5 separate regions of the Homo sapiens genome follow, and regions 1, 2, 3 and 4 are each linked to region 5. The links are contacts of gene promoters, found by promoter capture Hi-C in blood cells and fetal thymus (Javierre and others, 2016). All regions are on one chromosome and are shown on one strand. Each heading gives the region's core, a stretch centred on a gene start or on the middle of the fragment in contact. The rest is flanking DNA. Distances are from core to core; before and after follow the strand shown. Region 1 overlaps ITGA6 (integrin subunit alpha 6). Region 2 overlaps DYNC1I2 (dynein cytoplasmic 1 intermediate chain 2). Region 3 overlaps DYNC1I2 (dynein cytoplasmic 1 intermediate chain 2). Region 4 overlaps ITGA6 (integrin subunit alpha 6). Region 5 holds the start of METAP1D (methionyl aminopeptidase type 1D, mitochondrial).

Region 1 (2,700 bases), core at 97-2,596, 430 kb after region 5:
AAAAGCCCAGTGAAGTGTGGCTGTAGCTAGCCAAGAATCAGAGCTGTATTCAGGATGTGTACCTAAGCACTTGCTTCCTTGCATTTATTCACTCGGAGTGCCATGTGGCCCAGGGCCATCTTCCAGGGATTGCTGGGTCACCTTGAATGCTAAGAGTAGAGAAAAAGCCAAAACGGGCAGCGAGACTTACAGGAAGTCTTAGGACTCTGCAAGAAAGCAGAAATAGGCAAGTTTAATTTTAACACAGGCTGGTGTGAGACCAAGTAATGACAGGGTTGGGGAAAAAAAGGGTCAAAGTATTTATATGGTATAAATAATTTGTTGGGGAAGTCAGGATAAATGCTTATATAAAAGGATTCCTTTATTATAAAGAAGTGGTTATTCTGTGTTCTCAGTTATATAGACTCTCTTAGCATAACAATATATTGAGATTTAATTTAAGCTTTCATAACCAAATAGTACCAGAATTATGGCGCATGGTTTCCTGAAGACCTCGGCTCAACATATTACTGTGGACAGTGAGGCCAGTGAATTATTTGGTATTTTCAAGAGGGACAGTGAGACAAAACAGAAAATACTGTTGTAAGCTTAGATGACAGGGTCAATTGTGCCTGAAACACTGATTTAGTGCTGAATCAGCCCATTTTAAGAATATAATCATAGCTTAAGAACCAGTTTAAAATTTCCCCATCCTACACTAAAGCAATGTCTTTAACTCCTTTGGATGTCTGTAGCACATTGTGTCTGACAATTCTGATGTTTTGTGCTAAACTGTGATCCACTATCTTTAGGACATGATCTAATCTCTCCCAACTGGATTGTAGGTTATGTGAGGGCAGGGGTCTTACATTCATTTCTTTGCCTGCTAGCACCTAGCATATGCCTTGCAAATACAATAGAGACTGATATTATACACTCAGTTTAACCTGTGACATCAACTCTTCCTGCTGAGGGTGGAGAGAGGGAGAAATCCCTTTCTTTAACCCTTTGCCCTTCCTTGCTCAGGCCTTGGTGTCTTCTGCCTCTGAGGAAACGGAATCTGTAAGCTTAGCAAAGAAACGCACAAGACGTTAATTCTTGGTTTTTGATTTTTCAAAGGCGGGGGGTTCCAGCTAAGGGATTTTCATGAGTGTTTGTAAATTTCACCTGGCTTTTGCCCTAAAGGCAGACTTTAGAACCTAACCCCAGAAATACAGGCTGACCTACACTGCAGTGGGTACTCGGGACTTGCTGAGGTGGTTGGTTGTTATGAGGCTGGACAGAGAAGGATGACTGTGGAATAGAGATCTTTCTGAAAGCAACTTGACAGGGGTGTGGGGGTCAAATGGAAGTGTGCAGTACACGTGTGAAGTCACTTGTGAATTGATAGCGGCAGGTTTATTTCTTCAAGGATAGTAAGGGAATCTTGGATATATTTAACTCTTTCGGTAGGATGGTGGGAAGGCTGCTTACCTGCTCCGGGGGTGAGCCTAGGAGCCATAGCATGGGATCTGGGGATCTGTGTAGCACCCCCGCTGGCTCCTGGGAGGATGGTAAAGATTACGTACTGCAGCAGTGGGAAGTGGACGTAGTCTCAGCCCCCGGTGCCCATCTTCCCTTTCTGGGCTTGGGTACAACTCTGGAATCAAATAACTTTATATCTGGAAGGAAGCTTAGGGGTTCTGAAACCTGGCTGGTCTTCAGGGTAACTACTTGGGCAACCTTTTATAAAAGTGTGATTCTCAGCCCAGCCTAGATCTGTTACGTCAGTTTCCATAAGTGTGCTCCAAGAAGCTGTTCTTAAAGTCTTCTTCGTTTGAGTCAGACTAGCTTTTCTCCTTTACACAGAAGGCAGAGTGTAATGTAGTGACTAAGAGCAGAGCCTAGAGCCAGGTAGGATCAAACCCTTTTCTGCCATTGACTAGCTATGATTTTGTGCAGGATTCCTAACCTTCCTAGGCCTTCCTGCCTTCAGCTGTGAAGCTAGTATCCTCGCACATTAGAATAGTCCTGGTCCAGAGTGAGCATTTTGTGTTTGTTAAATAGATGAGGAAACCAAGGCTGTAAGAGGTGCAGTGGTGGCGGCATGTCTAGCAAACTTGGTCTTCAATCTGCATCTTCCCTGCTTCCCGGCCTGTGCTGTGTATGTGCTTTCTCCTTTTAGGTTTGGTTTTCATCACGTTTAAAGGTTTGGTTTTCATCACATTCTCCCTTTCTTCCATTCCACTCTCCAGTTGAAAAGTGCATCTCAGAAGAGCCATGCCTTCTACTTAGCAGCCCTTCGTAGCTACTAAGCCATAGATAAATCCCAGTGAGGTCTCAGTGTTCAGAGATGAGTGGACAGATGGGTGCATAGACATGACGGGGCAGTGACTGTGAGCTGGATACCCATGGAGGGTGGGTGGTGCAGTTATAGGTTGGGCTTACTGCTAAGGAATACCACCTGTCTGGTTTCCAGGCCTTCTTAGACCTCTATGACCTTGAAAGCACCCCCACACCTCCATCCCTAGGAGGCTGGATAACTTGCACAACACCCAGGGCAGGTTTGAAAACGATTTATTTTTCTTAGTTTTTTGCTTGGCACTAATGTTTGCTAGGAAGGAGCTTGTGGATTATTGATGACAAAACTGCCTAAGGTTGGAAAGTATGTGGGCAAATATGGAAGTAGTGTTTCCTTCACAGGTTTGTTAAACTGGCATTTAGATTTGCAAACACTGATCT
Region 2 (2,700 bases), core at 125-2,624, 310 kb before region 5:
CAGTGTACTTTTACTACAGATATGTTTTAAATACCTAGTGTAAGGTAGTTTTTCTTGTGTGTCTTTAGGACCAAGTTTTTATATGTGGTAGCCTAAATAATGGCCAAGACTGCCAGAAATCTCTTGGGGACTAAGAGAAAAATAAGTAGTAGAAAAGTTGAAGGTACAATTTATGTGCAGCATTACTATGATGCTGTAAAGGCCTGTAATTGAAGAATTTGCTAGTTTATTCTGAACCTTTCTGTGAGACATTATAAGAGGATTGGAGCTTTACATTAGCTATTAGATTAAAAGCTGACTGGTAGAAGCATGATTCAGGTTGGCAGAGCTATTCCAAAATAATATTTATATCCCTAAACATTTCCGTGCTGAGAGCAAATTTCATTTTTGTTTTCTAATGATGGCCATAACTGGCAAAAATGGGTTCTAAGGGATATCTATTGCATGATTTATACCTAATTTAAAGCTTGTAAAACTTATTGAGTCACACAGACCAATGGGAAAAAACAAAGTTTATAAAAATGTTACAAGAGATAATACAATGGTATTAAACTGTGAGTCTATTAATATATTTTTATCAACAGTGAAGCATCAGCTTGATATTACAACCTGTTTTGTTATTTTGATTAATTTTTCTGATGACTTTTAAGTCAAAATGGCATAGAATATTATGGCTAACAAAATTCACTCCAGACAGTGTCTGAGTAATAGTTGTCTAGGTGGCATAGGGATTTGAGATTTACATAAAAAAAACTTTTCCTTGGAAAGCTTACATTTTACTTGAGAAGTCTTGGATGATCTGAGAGTATTGAGGTTTATCTAGTTTAACCAGCAGATTGTGCTAAAACGATAAATAGCCGAGATAAAAGCTGACAAAAATTTTCATAACAAAATGTTTTGTGCTATGCAAAAGTGAGTTTAATTTTACAAAACACAATCCCAAATAAAATGAAGACTTTATACAGAAGTTTGTGATACTCTTTTTCAACAAATCATATTGTCATTCACTTAAAATTTGTTACCTCTTAAATAATTACACTTTAATTTTTTCATTGTATGTGATATTGTATCTAACCTTTTGTGCCACTTGGGGGAAGTTGTCTATTATTCCTGACCATAGACAGCAATTTCATACTGTAGATAATTCGAAGTTGACTGTACTTCTTGAATTTGTCTGTTAGGAAAATTTTTGTGGAAACTCCTTGATTACATATGAAGATAGAGCAGTTTAGTACATATCATTTGAAGGTTATTTACTAGAACTCTATTGAGAATGATTTTCATTTAATGACTATAAAAAGAACTTAACCTGTACTCAAAACTAAGTTCATGCCTTAAAAGTATACAGTGTTAGCATATTATTTAAAACATTTTTGCAAACAAATTTTTCATACTATATGTAAACATAAGTTTTTAACCTAAACATTTTAGACAGACCAGAAGAAGGAAGCTGTTGCTCCTGTGCAAGAAGAATCAGATCTTGAAAAAAAAAGGAGAGAAGCTGAAGCATTGCTTCAAAGCATGGGGCTAACTCCAGAATCCCCCATTGGTAAGGTTAAGAATATATCCATTTATAAGAGATAGGCATAGATTCTGTTCAGCTCAGACATAGCTGAGTGGATTGACTTGATATATTTTACATATTTTCCTTGTGTCTCTAAAATTATTAATCTTTTATTTGGAATTGTCTTTTTTTCAGATATGCTAGTACATGGTTATTTTATTTGTTCAAAAGAGCTGCAAGAGTAATTATTAACATATACTGAACTACCAATTGACTTCTCTTATTAAATCAGTAATTTATTTCAACAAACATTGGTTAAGCAAGTTTTATGTGCCATACTGTGTTAAGCTCAAAGATAACTAGGATTCCTGATCTGAACTCTATATTCCTTTCTGGAGATTAGCGAGAGATACAATCAGACTTATATTGTTAGAATGCAAAATATATTAGTATTCAAAGGTACAGGAGTGGAAGGATAAGCTTATAGCCTTCTGCTGTTAATGCTAATAAGGGAGATAATTTTGTGGCTTATTTTCGAAGTGATTTGACTTAATCTTATTATTTTTCTGGGTTATTCATTTTGATAACTGTACTAGACCAAAAAAGCTGAAATAGTAGAGGTACACAGGACAATCTAGTTACATATCAGGAACAAATGCTTACTTAAAATAGTTCTGTGCTGGGTGCTATTATGTAGTATTTTAGTTTAACATGGCCTTTATCCTTTAGAGACCTAACATTTTAGGGCTAGTTGGTGGGCTAATTTTATCTAGTCCAGGGGACAAATACTGGAGATTGTAAATGCTCTATGCTTGTTGTGAAACTGCAACATAACTGTCCTTAGAGCTGATATTTCTAAAAGGTTTCAAGATGAAAAGGCTGGCTACTCTCATGGTCAGCTTCATTGTTATTTCTTTCAGCTCATTTTCCTTTTCTTGTAGAATTTGAAGACTGAAGTATATTAATTTTATGTATTTATTCAATAAGCTTATGTTGAACATGCAATTTTAAAAGTAAATGAATCAGAACACTTAATTTCTTGTAACTAAACCAAGTTGCTTGTTAGCCTTTGTTTGAGTTACCTTTTTTTTCTGTGCTTTGGCTTTTGTTTTTCTCCTATAGGATTTTTTTTCTTTTATGTTCTTCTTAAGACTTTAGTTTCACTGAACTCACTTGTTCATATTTCTTTCTTCTTT
Region 3 (2,700 bases), core at 104-2,603, 290 kb before region 5:
GCTTAACTTTATTTAGTGGGGACTATGAGCATTATACAGTACCATACATAATTATCTTATATATTGCTAACCTATATAAATGCCAGTATGATAAAGCACCTTTTGTTCTATTAGTAACTAAGTTTGGCTTAAGTGGAAAAGATCCTCTGTAAGTTACTTAGCCAGCAGGCGATGCTAAAACTTATAACTCAATATTTAGGATTGACATTTGAACATAAAATATTTTTCCAGGGAAAAATCTATTTTTTTCCTAGAGACAGAAATCTTTAGTTGTTTTCTTTAAGCAGATGATACGTAAGCCCAAGGCGGTGCTTAACCCATAAATTACAGAAGGGTCACATTTTGGAAACTTTAGCTATTTTGTATCCCAGTGGGATAGTCTTTGGTTTTATTACCAAAAGGCTTATGTGTTGACTCATTTCCTTTACCAGTATGACAATTTCCTGCACACATGTAATGCTTTGGGGAAGATTAGAATATGTTAACCAAGATGTTTTAATGTGTTTGTTTTCATTAGGAATCTTAAAATTTCAACCATTTTATAGCCTAGCTTGTTATCCATAAATAATTAACTTGGGTTGTCTGACTTTAGTTGTTCTAAAGCAGATCTATTATTATACAATATTAGTTTCCCATAATCTGCAAATAATGTCTTTTAACTATTCTGGGTTGTATGCTTGCATCTTTAACCATAGGAAGCCTATTGCATGCACTAGATGATTGAGTGACCTGGTGGATTTCTTGTTTTGTTTTCGATTTTTTTTTTTTAATACTAACCAGAACATGTGTTTTTTAATTGTGAATAGTACTTTAGCTTTAGCTATTCATAGAATGTATTTGCTTGACTAACTTATGGCCTTTTTTGCTAATGCTTCATGGTTGTCCTACAACCATTTAGGACGCTGCATTGGGATACAGATCCATCAGTTCTTCAGCTTCACTCAGATTCCGATTTGGGGTATTGAATAGATTTTTTACCTTCCCTGTTTTATAATGAATTTGATTCTTTGTGAAACTGTCCTAATTTTATTTTGCTTAAGTTTATAATATTGTATCACGTAGTAAGGACAAGAGTTATATTTTACTGTGACACCTCATTTATCCAGTATCTTTAGTGAAAGAATATTCTGTGTGATGTTCTATGTACCCTGAGTCCATTTAAGTGTCCAAATGTTTAAAATTATTTCTATGTTTTTAATACAAGTTTTGTAGGATGTATTAAAAAACTTCTCAGACTTCTTCTAATATTCTACATGTAATTGAACCTTTTCAGGGTTACTTGATATGAATATTAATTTATTTTTCTGTATTAAAATTCACTGATGATTTCTAAGATTTTGAGAATAATGGAGATGCTGGTCCTTACACTGTTCATTCATTCATTACTATTTATTCATGAATCTAGAATAAAACTATTCATGAATCTAGAATAAATAAATGAGTGAATGAATGGATTAATAGATTATTCATAGAATGTATGGATGAATATTCTTAATATAATTGTCATTGAGCCCCTAGGTTAAATAAATAGGTTCTTTTCTTTCTTCCTTTTATTTTTGTTTTGTTTTTTGCTTTTTTTTTTGGCATATTTTCTTAGTGAAACGTTAGAAAACTAATGCTTTATAGTTTCTGTATGTCTCTTTTTTAGAGTTTTAAAACTTGTTCTTTTAGAAGTTAGTGTTGTAAGCTGTATGTATGGTTTTTTAATTTTGTTGACATAGAGATAAGATTATCCATCCATTCATTCATTCAGTTATTTATTCTAGATTCTAATGCAAATTATAAATGTTTGCTGCTGCCATTTTGCCTGACTCAGATAGCCCTTTTCCCCTGATAATTTACAGCTTCAAAAACATATGAATATACCTTTTGGAATTGTGTCTAAAGTAAGGTAAATAAGCCTTGATTTGAGGCATGTAAGAAAAATATATGAGTTTCTTGTACTTGAACTGGAAGCCCTCTGTAGTGGCCACACTGAGGCTTCCCCCTCCTGCCTCCCATTGCTTCCTTATTTTCAGTAAAAGTGGCTTTTGGATAAGTGAGGTATTACTTCCCTACCCACCTCCTCCTATAAAATCTTGGAATATTTCGTTTGTTTAGTATTATGGTTTTTTCTGTTAGACTCTGTATGCATTCAAGTTGGTAATTGATTCCTAATATTGTTGGCTTGACGATTTTTTTCCAGCTATGTGAGTGATTTACTTTTTATATAATTTGCATCTTAAAAATCAGAATATAAAGTTTCTTATTTCAAATTTTATTCTTAGACTTCTAGATTACTTCAGATTACTTAAATTGTCCACTTAATTCTTTGACTATACTTTTTTTTTCCCTTTCTTTTTTATTTCTAAACTAGAAAAGACATTAAAAAATTGTTATGGCCCACATTTTGGAACATTAATTTTTAAAATGTACTAATTTTATTATACTTTATAGTACTTTGTTATGCTTTATTAGATTGTATAGGACTTGGATTTAGTTACTAAATAGAACTGAAAAGAATATTTATATAAGAAAAAAGTTATATTACCAGCGATAGCCTGCTTTATATTCTGAAAGTTGCAGCAGTGTCTTTATTGTATATCCTTTTAAGGCAGCTTCATCACTGAGAACTTTTTTGGGAGTCTGGAAGCGTACTTTATTTGGTTTAGGATTTAAACATCTAATAAAACCAATAAAAGATCTCCCAGATAGCTAATA
Region 4 (2,700 bases), core at 111-2,610, 490 kb after region 5:
AGAGGAACAAAGAAAGCATATTTCTCTTTCTCTGAGTTTTAAGGTCAGAGTGGGAATGAATTACTTAGTCCTATGAGTAAATCAATAAACTTGAATTTAGAGTGATAATACTTGCTGGTTTTACACTTACTTCTGTGCCTTTGGCAGGAGAGAGGCAAATATTGTTGATTATGTGAATCTGGCACTGTTTGGGAGGATATGCTCAAGAGGCTTGTATGGTAATGACAAAGAATTACATAAATTGGAACTATTTTGGATATAATTTTTTTCAGGAGTCTCACAACTCAAGAAAGAAACGGGAAATTACTGAAAAACAGATAGATGATAACAGAAAATTTTCTTTATTTGCTGAAAGAAAATACCAGACTCTTGTAAGTATTTTTCAAGAGCTGTGAATATTTGAGAGGATGAGGGGAAGGATTTCTTCAGAACAATGTCTTTTGATGACCATTCTTCTTTTTCTCTCTAGAACTGTAGCGTGAACGTGAACTGTGTGAACATCAGATGCCCGCTGCGGGGGCTGGACAGCAAGGCGTCTCTTATTTTGCGCTCGAGGTTATGGAACAGCACATTTCTAGAGGTATGACCTTGGCTTGAGGCTGTCCCATGGAAGTAATTTGCCTTTGCCTAGGACACTTTTCACTTCCCTAATGCATTCACTGTCTCCAAACAGGAATATTCCAAACTGAACTACTTGGACATTCTCATGCGAGCCTTCATTGATGTGACTGCTGCTGCCGAAAATATCAGGCTGCCAAATGCAGGCACTCAGGTGAGAGGTTCCCCAGCTTCATTCAGGTTCAGAACATGTCTCTTTTCCCTGTACCCCACACTCATGTCCTGAAGTCATGTGCTTTGGTGCTCATTTCCCTCATAGCCCCATTACGGAGAAAACTGTCTTAAGGTACTGGCACTGCAAGCTGTATTTTAATAGAATCATTGAAAAAAAGAAGTAAATCTAGGGTCATCCAGTTCAGCAGTGCCCATGGTAGGTTTGAGAACTACTGGCTCAATTCAGAGAATGGGTGCACCTCACAGCCCTCTAGAAACCTGTGTCTTCTACCATCTCTAATGCTGCAGCCATTGGTGTAATGCCCCAGTGATGGCCCATCCCTTGGCCAGCTGTAATTATTAAAAAAGATCTCTTCATAGCTGACTCCTGAACTGAACCTTGTAAGTCCCTGGTTATGCCCCTCAAACAAGTCTAAAATAAGTTCTCTCTCTTGGCCATGTAGCAGCCTCTCAAATAATTGAAGGAAATGGTCATGCCTCCTTGGATGTTTCTTATTCTTCTCAGAGCTTATGCACCCAGCTCTTGAGTTATGCGTCACATTGGGCACAGCTGAACTGGCTCCTGGCCTCTCCCTTCCTGGGCAATTTGATTCCCACGTGGACAGAGCAGCTGAGGTGGGGTCTGCTTGGTCCCACTTACCCTGGGGCCTTTACCTCTCAGCATCTCGGCACCACACTTCTGTCAGACCTGCCTAAAATTTGCTTTTTCAAACCATTGCTGAGCAGCATGTTTGAATTTCTAGCAGCTGCTATTTTTGTGTTAGTGTTCTACTGAAACTTCCAGGTGTTTTCATCAGAATTTGTTGTCAAGCTGTGTTTCCAGTATCCTGTCCTTGAGCTATTTGTAAAAATCTAAATGTATGCCTTTAAGTGTATCCTTACATTTTATGTGATTTGCTTTGGGTCCATTGTTTCAGTTTGCAAAGTAATTCTGAATCTTGCTTCATCATTTGCTTTCTCAACTTTCTATCCCTGAAAGTTTTAAAAACTGAGAAGCATGTTCTCTATGTCTTCATCCAGGTAATGACAAATATGTTGAATAGGACTAGGTGTAGAACCTTGTAGTGAACCAATAGTGAGGGGTTCCCTGTGGGAGTCTAGAACCCACAGGGACTTGTATAAAGATCTCGAGGCAGAATGACTGCATGTCATGGTGGGAATAATGAATGGGAATGTTTTGCAAAAGAGACTGGAGAAAGAAATACTGTGAATTACTGTTCTTAAGTTAATCTGCCAGTCTACTTATGGAAATGTTCTGGCTTCAGTCATTTAGCTAGCTGAAAATTCAGGGAGCCTCCCTAATCATTCTGTTTTCTGAAATATAGCAGTCCTTACGATTTATTATCCAAGCAAGAATACATTTTTGTTTTTATTTAGTTTTTTGAGATGGAGTCTTGCTCTGTTACCCAGGCTGGAGTGCAGTGGCGCAAACACAGCTCACTGCAGCCTTGAATGCCTGGGCTCAAGCAATCCTCCTGTCTCACCTCCTGAGTAGCTGGGACCACAGGCATGCCACCACGCCCAGCTAATTTTTCAGTTTTTTTTGTATAGCCAGAGTCTCACCATGTTGCCCAGGCTGGTCTTTAACTCCTGGACTCAAGCAATCCGCCTGCCTCAGCCTCCCAAAATGCTGGGATTATAGGTGTGAGCCACTGCACCCAGCCCCAGGATACATTTGCCTGAGACAAATGCTGTACTGGGCAAGCTGCTGCGATAAGTGGTATCAACCAGCACTGTCCCGGTCTCTCCAGGACATATCAACAGGCATCATAAGGGACTTTCAAATAAACCACACCTTCCCTAAGGATCCTTTCTCTGCATCTATAAAGGCAGCAGGTATAGCTTTCTATAACTGTAAATCAGCAACTCTGAAAATCACTGAGATTTCAGAGCTAGACAGAGAACACT
Region 5 (2,700 bases), core at 166-2,665:
TATTTACCCTGATGGAAAGCATTACTTCTCTTTATCTTTCAAGGTGACCCAAAAGCATCCAAAACCAGGTTTTCCAGAATTATAGCATGTGTCCTCTAATGAAATGCCAACATTCACTCTCTTTAAAAGTAAAAATATCAAGATTATATAGTCATTAAAAAGAATAAGTCTGAACTAAGTGTTCTAAGATTTGATGCCTATGATGACTGGAATGGAAAAAGCAAGTCATATGATTCTATTTAAAATACTTACATTTGCCTGTGTGTAAAAGGCAAAGATCTCAATTGAGCACACGGTGGTTAACTGGGGAGTGGGACTATGGTATGTACAGAGGGCGAGGAAGGGGCTTGCACTTGTTCCTTATTTCTGAATTGTTCTGAATTGTCTAGATTATTCACTGAGTGTGTAGTGCTTAAAAATTAATTAGAAGACATCACACACATTCACTGAGAATCCTAATCAATCTTCACTGCATTTAAAGTCTGGAAACGGTTACATTCTCAGTTTGACTGGTTTCATGCAGTGTTCAATTGCTTCACCTGACATTCCTCGGGTATCGGGTTCTGTGCCGGGCACGGAGGCTACTAAGATGAATAACACCTGGTCCATGACAGGATGGCATCTACCCCAGAACACAGGTAAGAGAGACAGTGAATTTGGTAAAAATGGGCACCGTCATCAGTAGGCATACATCAGCTCCCTCATCTGATTCACAATTGGCCTTCTGTAGGCTTCTTCTCTTGGCAATGCAATTGGCAGGCGTCATCCTTTTATACTTAAACTCCAAATTTAGGATTAAGACTCCAGTTAATACTGCCAAGCAGAAGGCGTCCTTGGAGAAAGAGAAGTCTCCTGAACATACCCACTGGGGTACCTAGAATAGATTTTGCAGCGACACACAGATCCTGTGTTGTCTGGAGTCTCTGCTGAGTAATGTAGATTCTGGGACAGCAAAAGGGGAGCTGGTGACTTTGAACCAAATTTTACCTTTCAACTGAATCCAGGGGAATAATTTGCAACAGAGTGGCAGACGATACAAAGTGCTATGTTGAACACTAGATTGTGCTTTATTTTTTCCGCCCAACTTCACGTTTCCATGCACCAAAATGTTGATGCTATAAATATTGGATGCCACGCTTACCTGACAGGCTTCTTCCATCCCACCTGGGCGCGGGGGCTCAGAGCGAGCGCGCGAGCCGCGGCTGGAGCCCGCCTCTCGCGGCTGGAGAGGACTCAGCCGGCCGCGGGTTCTGCTGCTTGCCCGGGTGCCCTAGCCGCTTCCCAGCCAGGGCTCCCGCAGTCAGCCCCGCGCGCGCACGCGCGCTCCCCTCGGGCGGCCTCGACGCCTCAGGGCTTCGGCAGGGCTGCGACTGGCCGGCTCCAGCGGGCGGGGCGGCGAGCGAGTGCTCGCGGCCACGTGACCGACGCCAACATGGCGGCGCCCAGTGGCGTCCACCTGCTCGTCCGCAGAGGTAAGCGCGTGGAGGAGAGCCCCGTGAGGGTTCGCACGGTTGCTCACTAGGTACGCACCCGGGTCCAAAGGGATGCGCACCCGCGCTCAGACTTCTCGGCGCACACGACTGTACTTTCAGTGTTTACGAACACACGCAGGCACACACGATGACACATTCACACACCACAGGATCACACATACAAATTTGTTCACTGATCACCCGCCTAGAACACGTCACCACGTGGCATCTTTTCGCAATTACTCCTTGAGATTTGCGGGCCATTGTCTGAAGTTTTTTTCCCCAACTTCGGTTGTATCATTAGTGTAACCAACATTTATTCTGTATGCCGAGCAAGGAAACCTATGGTAATTCTGAAATGCATCTGGACACCCGGTTCCCTTCCCTAGAGCTTTTATGCAGGCATGCTTTTTGGGGACTTGCAAAATGTGATGGTTTTCTTCCAGTGACTTAAAGTTAAGAAGATAAGAAAGGATGTCTGGGTAGTTCTAAGTAGGTTTTATCCTGCGTGAGTGTTGAGATTTTAGTAAATATACAAATGCCTTTGCAGCAGAATTGGGGAAATCTTTGTTGGATTTGAACTAGGTGCTGAATCTTTGTTGGAAAGAACTAGAAAGTTTTTCCAAGGACGGGGGAAGAGGAAAACTATCATATTTTGAGGAGCTACTTAAGCGTCAGGCATGTAGGAACAGTTTTGTGAGGTAAATATTATTTTCATAGTAACAGCTACTGTTTATTAAGTGCCTTTTAAGTACACGATACTGTGTTAAGCGCCTTACATATGCTTGCTTCCTTTTAAAACTCAATGAATGAGACCCCGTCTCTACAAAAAATTTTAAAAATTAGTCGGGCGTGGTGACACATGCCTGTAGTCTCAGCTATTCTGGGGGTTGAGGTGGTAGGATCGCTTGAGCCTGGGAGGTCAAGAGGCTGCAGTGAGCCGTGATCGTACCACTGAACTCCAGACTTGGCAATAGAGCCAGACCCTGTCTCAAAAACAAAAACAAAAACCCAGTGAGTTAGGAATTATTTTCTCTTTGCAGAAGGGAAAAGTAAGGCTAGAGAGGTTAAGTAACATTACTAAGGTCGCATAAATGGTAAGAGGCAGATTGCTCATTTGAACATGACTCTAATTTTTTTTTTTAAGACTCATTTCTCGGTACTGCATGACGTGGTCACTCCATAGAAGTCAGTGTGTAAAGTTCAGCAGAGACAGTGCAGGATGAGT

Evidence for each region. Contacts are between HindIII fragments. The CHiCAGO score rates a contact against its expected background, and 5 or more counts as called.
Region 1: a fragment that was not itself captured here is called in contact with the fragment with the promoter of METAP1D in region 5 in 1 of 17 cell types (activated CD4 T cells); the score reaches 5.4 in activated CD4 T cells.
Region 2: a contact is called between a fragment that was not itself captured here and the fragment with the promoter of METAP1D in region 5, in 5 of 17 cell types (megakaryocytes, activated CD4 T cells, naive B cells and 2 more). The highest score is 7.2, in megakaryocytes.
Region 3: a fragment that was not itself captured here is called in contact with the fragment with the promoter of METAP1D in region 5 in 1 of 17 cell types (megakaryocytes); the score reaches 6.5 in megakaryocytes.
Region 4: a contact is called between a fragment that was not itself captured here and the fragment with the promoter of METAP1D in region 5, in 4 of 17 cell types (naive CD8 T cells, non-activated CD4 T cells, activated CD4 T cells and 1 more). The highest score is 7.0, in naive CD8 T cells.

Annotation. Positions count from the first base shown.
Region 1 is chr2:172,431,561-172,434,260 of GRCh38, forward strand. All of the region lies in intron 1 of ITGA6 (integrin subunit alpha 6), which reads left to right. Among named protein-coding and RNA genes, the nearest start is that of ITGA6, 5.3 kb to the left of the region's middle. The HindIII fragment of the contact is 605 bases long and covers 1,045-1,649 here.
Region 2 is chr2:171,691,346-171,694,045 of GRCh38, forward strand. It overlaps DYNC1I2 (dynein cytoplasmic 1 intermediate chain 2), which reads left to right. Exons shown (of 18, transcript NM_001378.3): 3 at 1,432-1,549. Among named protein-coding and RNA genes, the nearest start is that of DYNC1I2, 5.2 kb to the left of the region's middle. The HindIII fragment of the contact is 1,216 bases long and covers 767-1,982 here.
Region 3 is chr2:171,711,869-171,714,568 of GRCh38, forward strand. It overlaps DYNC1I2 (dynein cytoplasmic 1 intermediate chain 2), which reads left to right. Exons shown (of 18, transcript NM_001378.3): 6 at 899-958. Among named protein-coding and RNA genes, the nearest start is that of DYNC1I2, 26 kb to the left of the region's middle. The HindIII fragment of the contact is 3,280 bases long and covers 1-2,700 here.
Region 4 is chr2:172,490,752-172,493,451 of GRCh38, forward strand. ITGA6 (integrin subunit alpha 6) reads left to right here. Exons shown (of 26, transcript NM_000210.4): 21 at 273-371; 22 at 470-580; 23 at 674-772. The region is part of intron 2 of PDK1-AS1 (PDK1 and ITGA6 antisense RNA 1); the gene reads right to left. Among named protein-coding and RNA genes, the nearest start is that of ITGA6-AS1, 26 kb to the left of the region's middle. The HindIII fragment of the contact is 4,096 bases long and covers 1-2,700 here.
Region 5 is chr2:171,998,538-172,001,237 of GRCh38, forward strand. METAP1D (methionyl aminopeptidase type 1D, mitochondrial) reads left to right here and starts at 1,416. Exons shown (of 10, transcript NM_199227.3): 1 at 1,416-1,472. The coding sequence starts at 1,433. LOC124905590 (a long non-coding RNA gene) reads right to left here and starts at 1,372. Exons shown (of 3, transcript XR_007087296.1): 1 at 1,142-1,372. RefSeq lists a silencer at 1,111-1,410. The HindIII fragment of the contact is 8,153 bases long and covers 1-2,700 here.